Regions from separate parts of the Homo sapiens genome. Here region 1 is linked to region 2. The links are contacts of gene promoters, found by promoter capture Hi-C in blood cells and fetal thymus (Javierre and others, 2016). All regions are on one chromosome and are shown on one strand. Each heading gives the region's core, a stretch centred on a gene start or on the middle of the fragment in contact. The rest is flanking DNA. Distances are from core to core; before and after follow the strand shown. Region 1 has its middle 3.8 kb from the start of LINC03010. Region 2 holds the start of MNX1-AS2 (MNX1 antisense RNA 2).

Region 1 (6,833 bases), core at 8-2,507, 1.6 Mb after region 2:
GCTCCCCACGCCACTTGGCAGGGCTGGGGACACGCGCCCTCTCCCCCCTCTCCCTGGGGCCGCGCAGGGCTGTACCCGGGCTCTGCCCAGATCCCCTCGGAGCGGAAGATGCAAGTTGGCTTTTGTCTGACCCGGTCAGACAGAGCCGTTCTGTGGGATAAAGGCTTAACGCTCCGTGAACACGCAGAAAAAGCTCCGCGCTGGCCCTCTGACAATCCCATTGTCTCGGGCCTGAGCCCGGCGGTTTGGTCTGAAAGCGCCAAGTTCATGACATTTCAAAGAGCAATGATACTGGGAGAGGGGGGTGGGCAGGGGAGGGAGGGGTGTGCAGGAGAAATACATTCCTAAAATACGAAGTAACAGTATCTGACTCCCTCGCCAGCGCGTTCCTCAGCTCAGCCCCCTGCCCCACCCTCCACGAACCCATTCAGACCGAATCCCCTTCTCCAGCCCCGTGTGGACCCAGAGCCAGGCTGCAAAAGTCAGGATCACCAGGGACTGCGGTTTGGAAGGTGAAGGTGTGAAAAGATGCCCAAGTAGCTGCGTGGAAGCTTCCTGGAATGTCAGCAGAGTGACAGCAGCCGTTTAGCACAAGCTCCCATTGTCTGCACTGCCCCACAAGATAAGAATTTGCCAAAAAGGACTTTAGGTGCCCACATGAGTTTATTTTAAAGAGCTAGAGTGTTACTGTTTTCTTTCATTTGTATTACTGTTCGTACTATATCCTTTAAAAAAAAAACTATTTTCTGAGCCAGGAAGCAAAGGAGCTTCCATTTTTAGTGTTTAATTTGTTTAATGTGCCTCGGCAAAAGCAAATAATTCCTGAGAGAAAGCAGAATCCTCAGGAAATTGAATGTGTTTTGTCTCCAGCGAAGTTTCCCTTGAGTGATTTCGTTTGCTTTCTGTCTCGCCAAGCAGGCTCTGCACTGGGACCTCCAGCAGGCTGGGGCCAGGCTGGGCAGTCTGCAGCCCCTCTCCCCACCTTAGGTGGTGAGGCTTCTCTGATCCTCAGCCCACTGGCCAGGTAAACTGTGCTCCCGAAGAACAAAACGTAGCCTTGTAGAGTCATTCTAATGCGAGGAGAAAATAGGATTAGGCCAGAGTGTCAGCCAGGTAAGTCGGATTAACAGCAAGGTCCAATACATTTTGGCATTCTTGTGCTATTTTTAATTGTACAAAGGTATATGCTTCCCTTCCCTGGCTTTATTTAAAGAGGCTGTTTGTTTGTGCCCAAGAGGTAAATGATGAGCGATAAGGCTCTATGAGGAATTGGAAATGTATAACCTTGCAAAATGACATTTCGCCCTGGAAAGTGTGACACGCACACACGGGTAGATAAAGGGAGAGTGCGGAGCGTCCCGGGCTTTGTTAACGCTTCTTGCCCCCTGGCGTTGCTTTGATGGAAGGACACCCCACGCCTGGCTGCAGAGGTGTCTGCCAACGGCAGGAGCTCCTTCCCCACAGGCAGCCAGGCAATGACTACAAATCGATTCATTTTAAAAAAATATCCAAAGTCAGGTGTTAAAAAACGTATGAACCAGGATGGTAGGTCATTAAACCGTGGGAGAAAAGAGTTGGCAAAAACCTGCTTATATTATTTTTTAAAATATATATCTGTATTGCATTTTGCCACATGCAAATTTAGTCTAGGTTTGTTAATCAGGATCATGTGAGTGTGTCATAAATTAACATGATTTCTTCGGGGCAAGTCAAGAGAGAATGTATAATTGTTTAAGTTTGCAAATCATTTAGCAATTAACTTGGGGGGCAGAGGGCTGCAGTTCCCGGGTGGCCAAGGACATTCATGAGCCATGTGGAAGTTACTGAGTCGAATTGTAACTGTCCATGGCATTTCTGACCGTCCTTTCCAGGCCAAATGACAGACAGAAAGCCAGAGGGGACAGCACTGAATCCAAATGCTTTTGCATTCTGGGTGAGTGTGAACTGAGGGCACAGAAGCTTGGGGCCAAAGGAGAAGAAAGTTGCATTTGATCAAAGTTCCCCCTTTTGGGCAGAGGGCTGAGAGTGAGGATGACCAAGGGGTTTTGGCTTCCCTTTCAGACTCTGCATATGTGAGGTGGCAGGGCAGGGTTTAGGAATGTCATTTTCCTTAGATAGAGAAGGGTGTTCCCAAAAGAATTGTCCAGGGGTCAGGATTCTGGGAAAGCCATAACAGATGTATGTCTGTGAGGGCTTCCATCAGCTCGTGGAATGTTTTCTTCCTGTTGCAGAAACAGAAAGAGCAGTTTGTTGAATCTGAGAGTCGGTTTTGCCGACCTTGTTTAACTGCTGTCTGTCTGAGAGCTTCTTGCAGAGACGCTGGAGAATTCCTGGGGCGGGGGTTATTTCAAACTCAAGAATCTATCATTCCATTTTGATTAATCTGGTAAAGCAGGGTTCTGTTTCTCTTTTAAATTTTTTCTTCTTTTCCATATTTAACATAGATATGCATGTACATGAGAAGTAATGGACATTCAAAAAGCCAGATCCTGCTGATTCCACATTTCAATGGCTTGGTTTGCCAACTCATGCATGGGTGCCTCTAAACACTAATCAGTAATCCAGTTCATTGCTAAGGCTGCAGAGCTCCAGGATCTCTTATTTTCTCACAGGTGGGAAAAGACCCCCCGACCTTCTTGGTCTAAGCTCTCTTCTGGTTACTTGGTACCCACATGTTTACAAGGTATTTATTTTCATTAGACCTCCGATCGTTCTAAAGGCCTGCAGAGCCCAACCCTTCCTGCCTCCTCCTCTCCCCATCTTTAAGCTATAAAACCTTGGCGGAGTTTTCTGGGCTGTTCTCCAGGTTTTTGTTTTCCCCACTGTCCAGCATGGTACCTGAGATTGAGTGCAGGTGCAGCCGGCAGGACACAGTGGCTCCAGCGCCAGCTTCCGCTCCATCTCTACCCCATCCTTCTCCTCTGACTTATTTTGCTGTAACTCTGCACTTAATCTGATGAGGAAGGGTCCCTAGAATGTAGAATGTTGAACAAAATTCTCCCTAAAACAGGAGGAAGAGCTGGCCGTGGGGAGCGGGTTCTATAGTAGCTGCAAGTTGACCAAGTATGTAGAAAACATCAAAATGTGTCTCCATTCCCTTTCCTTGGGTCTGGGAGGAATGTCCCTGAGCCGTTCTTCCCAGCCCTTTTGTAACTAGCAGATGCATTTGTTAGAGAGGTCCTCTTGTTATCCCTGTTCTCAGCATTGTTCTTTCAGCTAGAAATTCACAGTAAAGGTGAGCCATCCTCCGAGGCCGAGGGGCATAGCTGAAACTCAGCAACAGGAACAGAAGTGAACCTCTCTTCACCATGTGTATTCGTGGGGTGGGGGTGGTGAAGGGGAAAGGAGATAGTGTTTGATTTTGTGAATCCAGGGTGAGGCTACAGGGACCCCAGAAGCCTCCTCTTCAGGCCCTTCAGTCAGCAAAGGCGGCCTCCCATCCCCAAGGCGCAAGCAGCGCAGATACCATCACAGCCGTAGCCCAAGCGCGCGGGCCCTCGGCCACTGTGTGCCTTCCCCGGACGTTGGTCTATGCGGAGCAGCCCTCAAGCCTGACTGATCCGGGTCTGCATCCCGCGGGTCTGGACGCGAGCTGGGCATCCGACCGCACCGCGGCGGGACGGGGAGCGCGGCCGCCTGGAGCTGCTTCTTCTGGGCGCTGGGCGCACGCTGCCGAGCGCGGGGCTGGGGCTTCCGGGGGCCAAGCCGGCTCAAGCCCGCACAGGCTCGCGGCGGGGCTGCCTGGCTGCCGCGTCTTGGATCCGGCCTGGGCCTGAGCTCCTGGACCTGGGGTTTTGTTTTGTTTCGTTTTTGTGGAGGAGAGGGGGTTTGGAGACATGAATTGCACTGGCATGGTGTAGGGGAAATATTTGGAGATAGTTGGCAAGAATTCATCCCCAGGTCCAAGGAGTCCAACTAAGCCCGGTTTTAGGGAAGCCCAGCCAGATGTATCTTGAGACAGAAAAGGACATCGTGCTAGGTCTGTGGGGCGGACGCTGAAGAGTTGCCCCGCTAGGAATTTCCTTCCTTTGCAACCGTGAAGGGCTCGCTGCTGCAGTCCAGTGAGCCGTGGGACTCCAATGCCTGCTTCCCACCGCCAGCCTGTTCAGGGGAAATCAGATCAAATCCACCTGCAATCACAACTCCTTTATCAGCTGGGGGGCCCCAAATCTAAAGGGAGAAATGGGACGCTTTAGGAGCCCACCTAATTTGTGATGAGAAATGGAGAAGGGGAAATTCATATCCAATAATAAACTGCTGTAAAAGTAGGTTTGGAAGAAGAAAAGTGAAAACAGTACATATGTTTGTAAGTATGTGCTCATATTTATTGAATATTTGTCTTCTCTAAGTATAGCTTTATTAGGTGTCATAAAACCCCTGAGTTGAGCAGAGTCCAAAAGCCGTCTTTTGGCCAAGCTCACACACATCAGCTCTCTTCCTGGGTGTCCCCCGTGCATTTTATTTATCTTTCAGTTTATTCAAACTTATTTTGAGCCACATGAAGGCAGTTTTATTTGGCTAGTAGAGATTGTGTTTAATTCATTGAGTATGCATTGTCAAAGTTTAGACGTCAATGCCAGCCTGAATTCCAAATTGGGAAGTTAAATATTTGTTTTTAATTTTCTGGCTCAAAAATGTTAACTAACAGAAATGATTCTTTCTGCTCTAATGTGCTTGCATAAATGGGGTTATTAGAACTTTCCCCTAAAACAACATTTGCTTCCTGTCCAGACACGTTGTGTTTGGAAACTTCACTCCTGGAAGAAATTTTTAATATGTATAAATAAAAAGTAAATGCCTGGCCTTTGAATGTTTTGGTACAGAGGCTTATAGGAGGAGGAAAATGAGAATGCAGCATTCCTATCTCAGTAGCTTGATTACAGACAAATTTAGGTTGTGGTGGAAAAGTATTAAAGGGCTTGCATTACAGAAAATATTGACACCAAAGTCCCCTTAATGGTTGTCCTTTATAAGATATGGAATTTTGTAAAGAATTTCAAGGTTTAATTTGCCAACTCTTTTAGGTTTGTTGTATTATTGTGCACTTAATCTATTTATACATACTTCTTAAATTCCGTGATTTGAAAATGACAGAGAACACAAATGCAAATAACTTCACACATAACCCTCATACTATTGGGAATGGAACCAGGAAAGACTACACCTTCTCTGTAGAGGTGTATTTCCAGTAAATCAAATTGCAGACAGTTTAAAACATGATGCTCAAACTGAGACCTCATATGCGAGTGAAAATGAACTGACTATAGAGATGTGACTCACTATAAAGAGCCAGAATTCCAACAATCTTCAAATCTGATTTTTTTAAAAGTGAGCTTTCCGGAAACAGATCTATCTAAAGCTTGGCGAGACGAGAACCCCATAACAACCATCTAGATAACTGTGCCTTCACTAGCATGTCACTTATTTCCTCCTTACTTGATTCTCTGACTTGTTCTTGAAGGAAGCAAGGATGCCTCCTGCCTACATTTGGGTCTTGGATTGACTCACTACATCACAGGACTGCTGGGCTCCAGGATGCGAAGATCCAGCCACAACTGGCACCAGAGAACAAGAGAAGCTTCCTTTCCATCTCTGGTGGCCTGCTCACCAAAGACCCTCTGGTCCCGTCAACTTGGTGTTAACTCTTGGGTGTAAATGCCTTTGAGAAAATACCCACTGCACCTCCTACAGTGAATCCCACTGCTCACACAGGGTTTGTATGAAGTCTGCCCTTTATGGGCCATCTACACATCTCCTGTATAAGATACAGAAGGTGAGTCTACAGTCGTACATAGGAAGAGCGACCTAGGATTTAGTGGGCCAAATACAACCACGAAACGTCGCCTGGCAGCCTGATTCCACAAACGCTGTAACCTTCCTCCTCCCTCCTGTGGGGACTAGGAAAGAAAAGAGAAAGAGAGGCACAGCCTCTGGTCTCGGAGGTAGGCAGGAATGGAGGGGTTTCTAAGGGCAGGTCATCTCCTTTCAACAAACTCAGAGATTTGGCAAGTCACCAGGTAATTCTTTCAACCACAAAATCCGCAGGCAACACAATTTAAAATCTCTTGGCAGAGACTTCCGGAAGTGCTTCCTCCCTTCTTTCTCTGGAGCTCCAGCTGCAGGACCACCGTGAGGAAGCTGTCACCGCCGCTAAGGCTGGCTGCCCTCTCTGGGAGTTGCACTTCCTTCCTCCGGTCCCTAATCTGAGGACTGCTGGATTGCAGACTTGGCAAGTCCAGTGTGTACCTACTGTTACCCCACTGGAGTCCTGATGTGGCGGGAGGCCTGGTGGAAGGGACAGGGGGTATTTTCCCTTTTAATTTATTCAATGTTTTGTCTTAAAAACAGAGGGAGGGTAGGCAGCGATCTTACCTGTTATTAACTTTCCACCCCCGCTGCCATCCCCTTAGCTAGAAGAGCCACTGGTTTTTATTTTTGTTTTTATCTTAATGACCTTTCCTACTTCCCCTCCCCTACACTGTTTGAAACCCCGCTGTGGGGTTTGACTGACCCGACCTAGGGTGCTGCCCTCACGTGGACGCCGGCCCTGGGCGTGTCGCGTGTGCGCGGGGACGGCTGTGCGCGCGTCTCTGGACGAGACCAATTTCTCCATCGCGCAGCCATCCCCGCGGACGACGTTTGAAAGGCGGACTGAGGGTGGAGGAGGTCGCGGGGAAAGCGGACCGAAGGGAAAGAAAAATCAGAAAGACCATTAGGATCTGTCCGGGTGCCTGAACTCTTCCTCCTTCCCTAAAGGACCCTACCAAGCCGGTGGCGGCGAGGACGCAAACACCATTGAGGGGGCTTCCGTGGGTCCGCGGTCTCGCGCTCCG
Region 2 (6,244 bases), core at 50-2,549:
GAACACACAGAGAACCGGATCCTGCCTGCGCCTCTGCCTGTAATTTGCGTAATGAGAATTGTCCTGAAAAGGCTTCTAGTCTCCTCAGGCCTTGCCCCTGCCGCCCGCACCCTGAGGAGGGGGCATGCCAAGGAAAACATTTGGAAGGTGGGAGGGTCCCTGGTGAATACACAGACTTGGACCCTGGGTTTGGTCCTGTTCCACCTGTCCTCTCTCCCTTCCCTTCCTCCCTTCCTTCCTTCCTTCCTTCCTTCTTTCCTTCTTTCCTTCCTCCCTCCCTCTTTCCCTCTCTCCCTTCCTTCCTTCCTCTTTTTCTCCTCCTCCTCCTCCTTTTCTGTCTTAAGGAGGCAGTGCAGGGAGACCTGGAACAGCAGGACCAGCTCTTCCCAGACCTGTTTGGATCTGAGCCTGAATCTCTAGGAAGGCGCAGTGAGGAGAGGGGGAGAGATTTGGTTCTCATCACTCACTGCTCCTTTATTTTATTATTTTATTATTTTTTATTTATTGAGAGATGGGGTCTTGCTGTGTCACCCAGGGTACAGTGCAGGGGTGCAGTCTCGCTCACTGCAGCCTTCAACTCCTGGGCTTCCCGGAACCTCCCTTCCTGGCCCCCGACTGGCCTCAGTTCTCCTCTTGCCTCTGGGTCAATCCACTGCTACCAAAGCCGGCTCCTGTGGAGAGGAAGCCTCCTGCGATGGGCCCTGTTTAACAGGGACACTCAGACGTCTCCTAGACAAAAAAAAAAAAAAAAATTGGTCTCATTAACTCCAAACTATCCATTTCCACTTGGTGGTCCTGAGTCCGCATTCCTTGGGGAGTGGGCACTGATAGTGAGGGAACAGCCCCGCCCTCTGCAGGGCCAGGCCTTGGCGCTGGGGCCTTGAGTGTAGTGGTACAAGCAGCAACGGGAGGGGCTGGGGCGAGGACCGGAGCCGGCTGTGGGCCTCACTGCCCTTTGGTCCCCAGCCCAGGCGCAGTCGAACCTCCTGGGGAAGTGCCGCCGGCCGCGCACCGCCTTCACCAGCCAGCAGCTGCTGGAGCTGGAGCACCAGTTCAAGCTCAACAAGTACCTGTCGCGGCCCAAGCGCTTCGAGGTGGCCACCTCGCTCATGCTCACCGAGACCCAGGTGCGCGCCCTCCCCGCCCCCGACGCATCCCGGCCTCCCAGGGGACACTGTTACCTTTGCACTTGTGACCCACGGGCGGTCTGAGGCATCTAGCGCTGCGCCTCGACGGTTCAGACGGCGGGCGCACGGGTTCATCTAAGGTGCCCAGAGCGCCGATTCAGTAGCTTCGGGTGGGGCCCAAGAATCAGCACTTAACCACCCCTCCTTTCATTCTGAAGAAGGTGATCCCCAGGCCGCATTCGAGAAATTTTGTTCCAGAAAGAGAGGAGGGAACATCCTGAGATTTACCGCGACGTAGCCAGCTGCCCTGACCCTTCCTCCGCAGACGGAGGGCGCGGGTAGAAAAGTCCCCGGCCTGGGTCGTTGGGGACATAGTCCTAGCTCCCACGGAGCTCCAGCCCAGCTCTGGGGTTTGCTGCTGAGTGGGGGGTTGCGGGGAGGAGGAAGCTACGAGCCCCCTCCCCATTCTGCTTCTAAGTCGTCTCACCCTGAGGCCATTCCAGGGCCGACCCAATGGGGCCCAGGCGCACGCGGCCGGGGGACTCCGGGGACAGGAAGCCCTGGGGTGGCGGTGGCCGGTTTCTCACGCCCGCTTGTGCCCGCAGGTGAAGATTTGGTTCCAGAACCGGCGGATGAAATGGAAACGCAGCAAAAAGGCCAAAGAGCAGGCGGCGCAGGAAGCGGAGAAACAGAAGGGCGGCGGCGGGGGCGCGGGGAAGGGCGGCGCGGAGGAGCCGGGAGCCGAGGAGCTGCTGGGGCCGCCAGCGCCCGGAGACAAGGGCAGCGGACGCCGCCTGCGGGACTTGAGGGACAGTGACCCCGAGGAGGACGAGGACGAGGACGACGAGGACCATTTCCCCTACAGCAACGGCGCCAGCGTCCACGCCGCCTCCTCCGACTGCTCCTCGGAGGACGACTCGCCGCCCCCGCGGCCCAGCCACCAGCCCGCGCCCCAGTAGGAGCCCCGCGGCCCAGCAGGTGCGGCGCGCACGGAGCGCCCCGGCCGGCGGCTTCTCCCGGAGGCCCCGGCGCCCGCACCCACCCGGCCCGGCCCCGAGAGCAGGCTCGACCGCCGCCCCATGGACCCCTCGCCCAGGCCGGGGCTGGAGGGATTCGGCCGCGGCTCCGGTCCTGGGCGCTTCCCTTTTAAGCAAGGGCGCCTCACCTGCTCTTCAAGAAACAGCGAGAGGGAGACCCAGGGGGCTGAAACTTGAACTCTGGTTCTTTTAAAATTAATTTTGGTTGGTGTTGGGGGAGGCGCGAGTGCGTGTGAGAAGAACCGACCCACCCCGCGCAAGGGGAAGCCTCCTGTCTCCCCTTTCCCCGCGTCCGAGAAGGCGGAAACCCACAGTGTTACCTGACTTATGAAACTTGAAACCGCCTCTGGAGCCGCCATTCTGCAGAGTATTTGGAAAAAGAAAAAAGGGTTTATGCTTACGTCTCTGGGGTCGGGGGGATTATGTCACGAGCGTTCAAACTGCTGGAAATCTCAAAACTGTACTGTCTTTATTTTTGTATATTGTATTTATATATAAAAAGAAACGTCTACGTATGCATGCTAAATTATTATTTAGCTTCTCCCATCGCCCACGATGGAATGTAAAATAAATTGGTTTTGTACTGGATCAGCGTGCACGAGTTTTGGGGGATTATGCCCGCGGCATTACAATTTGCTTGTAGAAATGATGGGGAGGGTGTCTACTCGGCGGTTGGCAGCTGAGGGTGAAAATCGGAGTCTCAAGTGGGTGTCAGGACCACCTCCGCGCCTGCTACTGGGGAGTCGCAATGTGAAGTGTTGGCAAAAATACCTGTGGCCAGGTGTCAGCGCATGCCCGGCTGCCTGGTGCACACCTGTCCCGGGACACGTGTCCCTCGGAAGCGGAGCTGTGGACTCTATTTATTTTCCTATTTCCTTGCTAGCTGTTGCTTCGTTGGCACTCCAGAAGTGGAAATACGCTATTTGGACGTTTCAGAAAATAAGCTTAAAACGACTAGGCGTTAGTAGCATGTGGGGTCCCTGTGACCTCAGGCGCTACTGAGGCACATTTCCCGGAACGCACCGAATTGCGCGGTGCTTCTCTCTCTCCTCGACCCCGGCCCTCTCTGTTAGCAGAACCTTCCTTGGCTGGCCAGGATCGGTCTTCTTGGCTCTGTGCAAACAAGTCCGCGAGGACAGCGGCGGACTGCAGCAGCGCTCCACACCGCGGCTGCAGCGGCTCCGGGTTAATCAGCCTCTGCAGCGCGCGCCATCAATCACCGCAGCCAGGCCCAGCGCCATGTGCTGCACACATGCGGGCTCAGCCCGCGCTCTCGTCCGCCCAGGAGCGCAGGCCCGCGGCCCACCCAGCCCGGCGCGACTCCCGGCCCCCTTCCCCCATCGATGACCCAGTGGCCTCTCCTGGCCCCGGAGGAGACGGGCGACGGGGACGCCGCTCCTATCCCTTCTCCCGGGCCTTCCTCCTTCCTTCTGTTTGTCACTTTCTCAGCAGCACCTGCGTGTGCCCTTCTCCTCCCTCCTCCCCTCCCCTCCTCCCAGCGGATAAAATGAGTTCAGAAGGGCCTGGCGTTTCATTTGGGTGATTACCGCGGGGCGAGCGCAGCCACTCCTCTGCCTCAGGGCGCGGGGAGATTAATATCCTCTCTGGCAACTCATTATCACCCCGGGCCCCTTCCATAAAATCAACCTCATCCAAGGCCGGGGCGCGGCTGCTGGGAGTCCGGGCAGAAGCAGCTGCTGGGCGCTGGCGCAGGGGCCGGGCCTCCGCCGCCTGGGGTCCAAAGGTGTTTAGGGGAACTGGGAGAGGGTTTGCCACTGGTGGAGGAGGCAGAGTGCCCAGAGGAAGAGGGTGGGAAAACCAGAGGGAAGGGGGGAAGACAGATGCTTTTTTTTTTTTTTTTTTTTTTTTTTTTAATCTGCAATCCCTACATTTCTTTTTAATTTCTAACACATTGGTGAGGTTCAGCCTGCAGCAATCTCTCCCCTGGCTGGCCCCACATCTGGGGATTATTTTCCCCTTGGGCTCAGCCGGCCCAGCCTCAGCGCCCTCACCAACACTGGGCAGCCAGGGAAGAGTGGGGGCTCGGCCTGGAGCTGGGGTGCCCCAGGCCTCCGCGGAGGGTCTGTCCCTCTACCCCCAGGGGACAGGCGCTTCCTCTGGGACGCGGGGAAGAGCGACATCAAAGGAAGACGCTGTTAATAGGGCCGCCCCTCCCCCGTCCTCCAGCAGAGCCAGGCCCCGGACCTGCGCCGGCCCCTGCGCCTCCAGCAGGCCGCTCAGTCGCCGCGGAATTTATCTCGCTAATAAATTTAATGATCAATTCGTTCTTGTCACAGTAGCTCTTCCCCAAATCAATTATAGCAAATTTAAATATAATCACTGGCTCGTCCTCATCCACTCCGGGCACGGTGAACAATTCATTCTGCCTAATGAACGGTCTCGAGGCCCGGCTCTGCCCGCCTTGCGGGCGCGACCCCCACCCCTGGGCGCCGCGCTCGGGGTCGCTGACTCGGCTCGGCCTGGGGCGGTGGTCCCTCGGGGCCCAGGCCTCCAATCGCACCTGAGCCGCCAGCTGACCCCGCGCATGGGGGAGAAAGTCTTTGCAGCCCTCAAGAATCCGGTTCTCCGGACCTGAAGCCAGGTCTACGCAGGGGGACCCCGGAGGGAGCTGAGGCGGTGTTTTCAGACAGGCCCAGGCTTCCCCCACGGGACATGTCTGCTGTCCTCTAGCTGTCCCGGAGGCCTGCGGATCTCACTGCCTTCAACAGAAGCGAAGGTACGCGGGGGGAGACCCCTGCGGCGGCCGTCACTGCGACCCGGGGCTCTGGGCCCCACCCAAAGCTGACCCTGTCCCCTGGAACCCAGCCTTGCCTCCTTGCCCTACCGAGGCCCCCACCTCTTGGCCACCGTTTTCTTTGCTCCAATGTGGGTTCTCCTCCCTTCTTAGAAAGGGGGGCCTTGCTGTGGGCGAATTCTGCCGGGCGTGCAAACGCATGTGGAGGAAGCCTTTTTTGTGACGGGAGAAAACAGTTCACACACGCCCCCCAGACGGAGGCCCAGGGGGCTCCTTTCCAGCCCCTCCTGGAGCTCCGGCTGCCAGGTGAGAGGCAGCCAGGAGACCCCGGTTAATCCCTGGTGTCAGGGAGTAAAGAAACAGCTCGAAGGGAGAGGAGGTGGACCTGTCCCTTCCCTCATCCGGTGACTTTCCTTCTTTGATACTGAACACAAGGCAACCAAAGCAAAAATAGACAAATGGGACTGCATCAAACTGAAAAACGTACGCGCCACAAAGGACGATCAACAAGAGTGAAAGGCAACCTGGGGATGGGAGATATCATCTGCAACACGCGAATCAGGGAATGGGTTAATGTTCAGATTATGTAACTCTCAGCACTCTACAACAAAACCAAATTAAATGGGCAAATGACTTGAATAGATATGACTCCAAATAAAATTTTGAAACGGCAACACACATATGAAAAGATGCTCAACACCAATAAGCATCAGGGAAATGCAAATCAGAGCCACAGATCCACCTCACACCTGCTAAGATGGCCAATATAAAACAAACAAAAAGCACAGAAAATAGCAAGTGTTGGTGAGAATGTGGAGAAATTGCAGCTGTGGTCAGAATGTAACATGGCATAGCCATTATGTAAAATAGTACAGAATTTCCCTCAAAAAATTAAAAATCAGGCTGGGCGCAGTGGCTTACGCCTGTAATCCCAGAGCTTTGGGAGGCCAAGGCGGGTGGATCACGAGGTCAGGAGTTCAAGACCAGCCTGGCCAAGGTGGTGAAACCCCGTCTCTACTAAAAATACAAAAAATTAGCCGGGCGTGATGGCGGGCGCCTGTAGTAGCAGCTACTTGGGAGCTGGGGCAGAGAAGTGCTTGAACCCTGGAGGCGAAGGTTGCAGTGAGCCGAGAACGTGCCATTGCACTCCAGCCTGGGCGACAGGGCTCAAAAAAAAAAAAAAAAAAAAAAAAAAAGTCAAATTACCATACGATCCAGCAGTCTCAGTTCTGGGTATATATCCAAAAGAATTGGAAAAAACAAAAAGATCTCAAAGAGACATTTGCACACCCGAGTTCATTGCAGCACTCTTCACAATTGCCAAG

The links. Contacts are between HindIII fragments. The CHiCAGO score rates a contact against its expected background, and 5 or more counts as called.
Region 1: a fragment that was not itself captured here is called in contact with the fragment with the promoter of MNX1-AS2 in region 2 in 2 of 17 cell types (total B cells and naive B cells); the score reaches 16.7 in total B cells.

Annotation. Positions count from the first base shown.
Region 1 is chr7:155,374,860-155,381,692 of GRCh38, reverse strand. No RefSeq gene overlaps it. Among named protein-coding and RNA genes, the nearest start is that of LINC03010, 3.8 kb to the left of the region's middle. RefSeq lists enhancers at 1-371, 3,107-3,607. The HindIII fragment of the contact is 1,408 bases long and covers 554-1,961 here.
Region 2 is chr7:157,001,362-157,007,605 of GRCh38, reverse strand. MNX1-AS2 (MNX1 antisense RNA 2) reads right to left here and starts at 1,299. Exons shown (of 2, transcript NR_147077.1): 1 at 1,182-1,299; 2 at 486-729. It overlaps MNX1 (motor neuron and pancreas homeobox 1), which reads left to right. Exons shown (of 3, transcript NM_005515.4): 2 at 967-1,127; 3 at 1,733-2,752. The coding sequence ends at 2,086. RefSeq lists a silencer at 1,710-1,904 and enhancers at 1,673-2,325, 4,042-4,748. The HindIII fragment of the contact is 8,591 bases long and covers 1-3,110 here.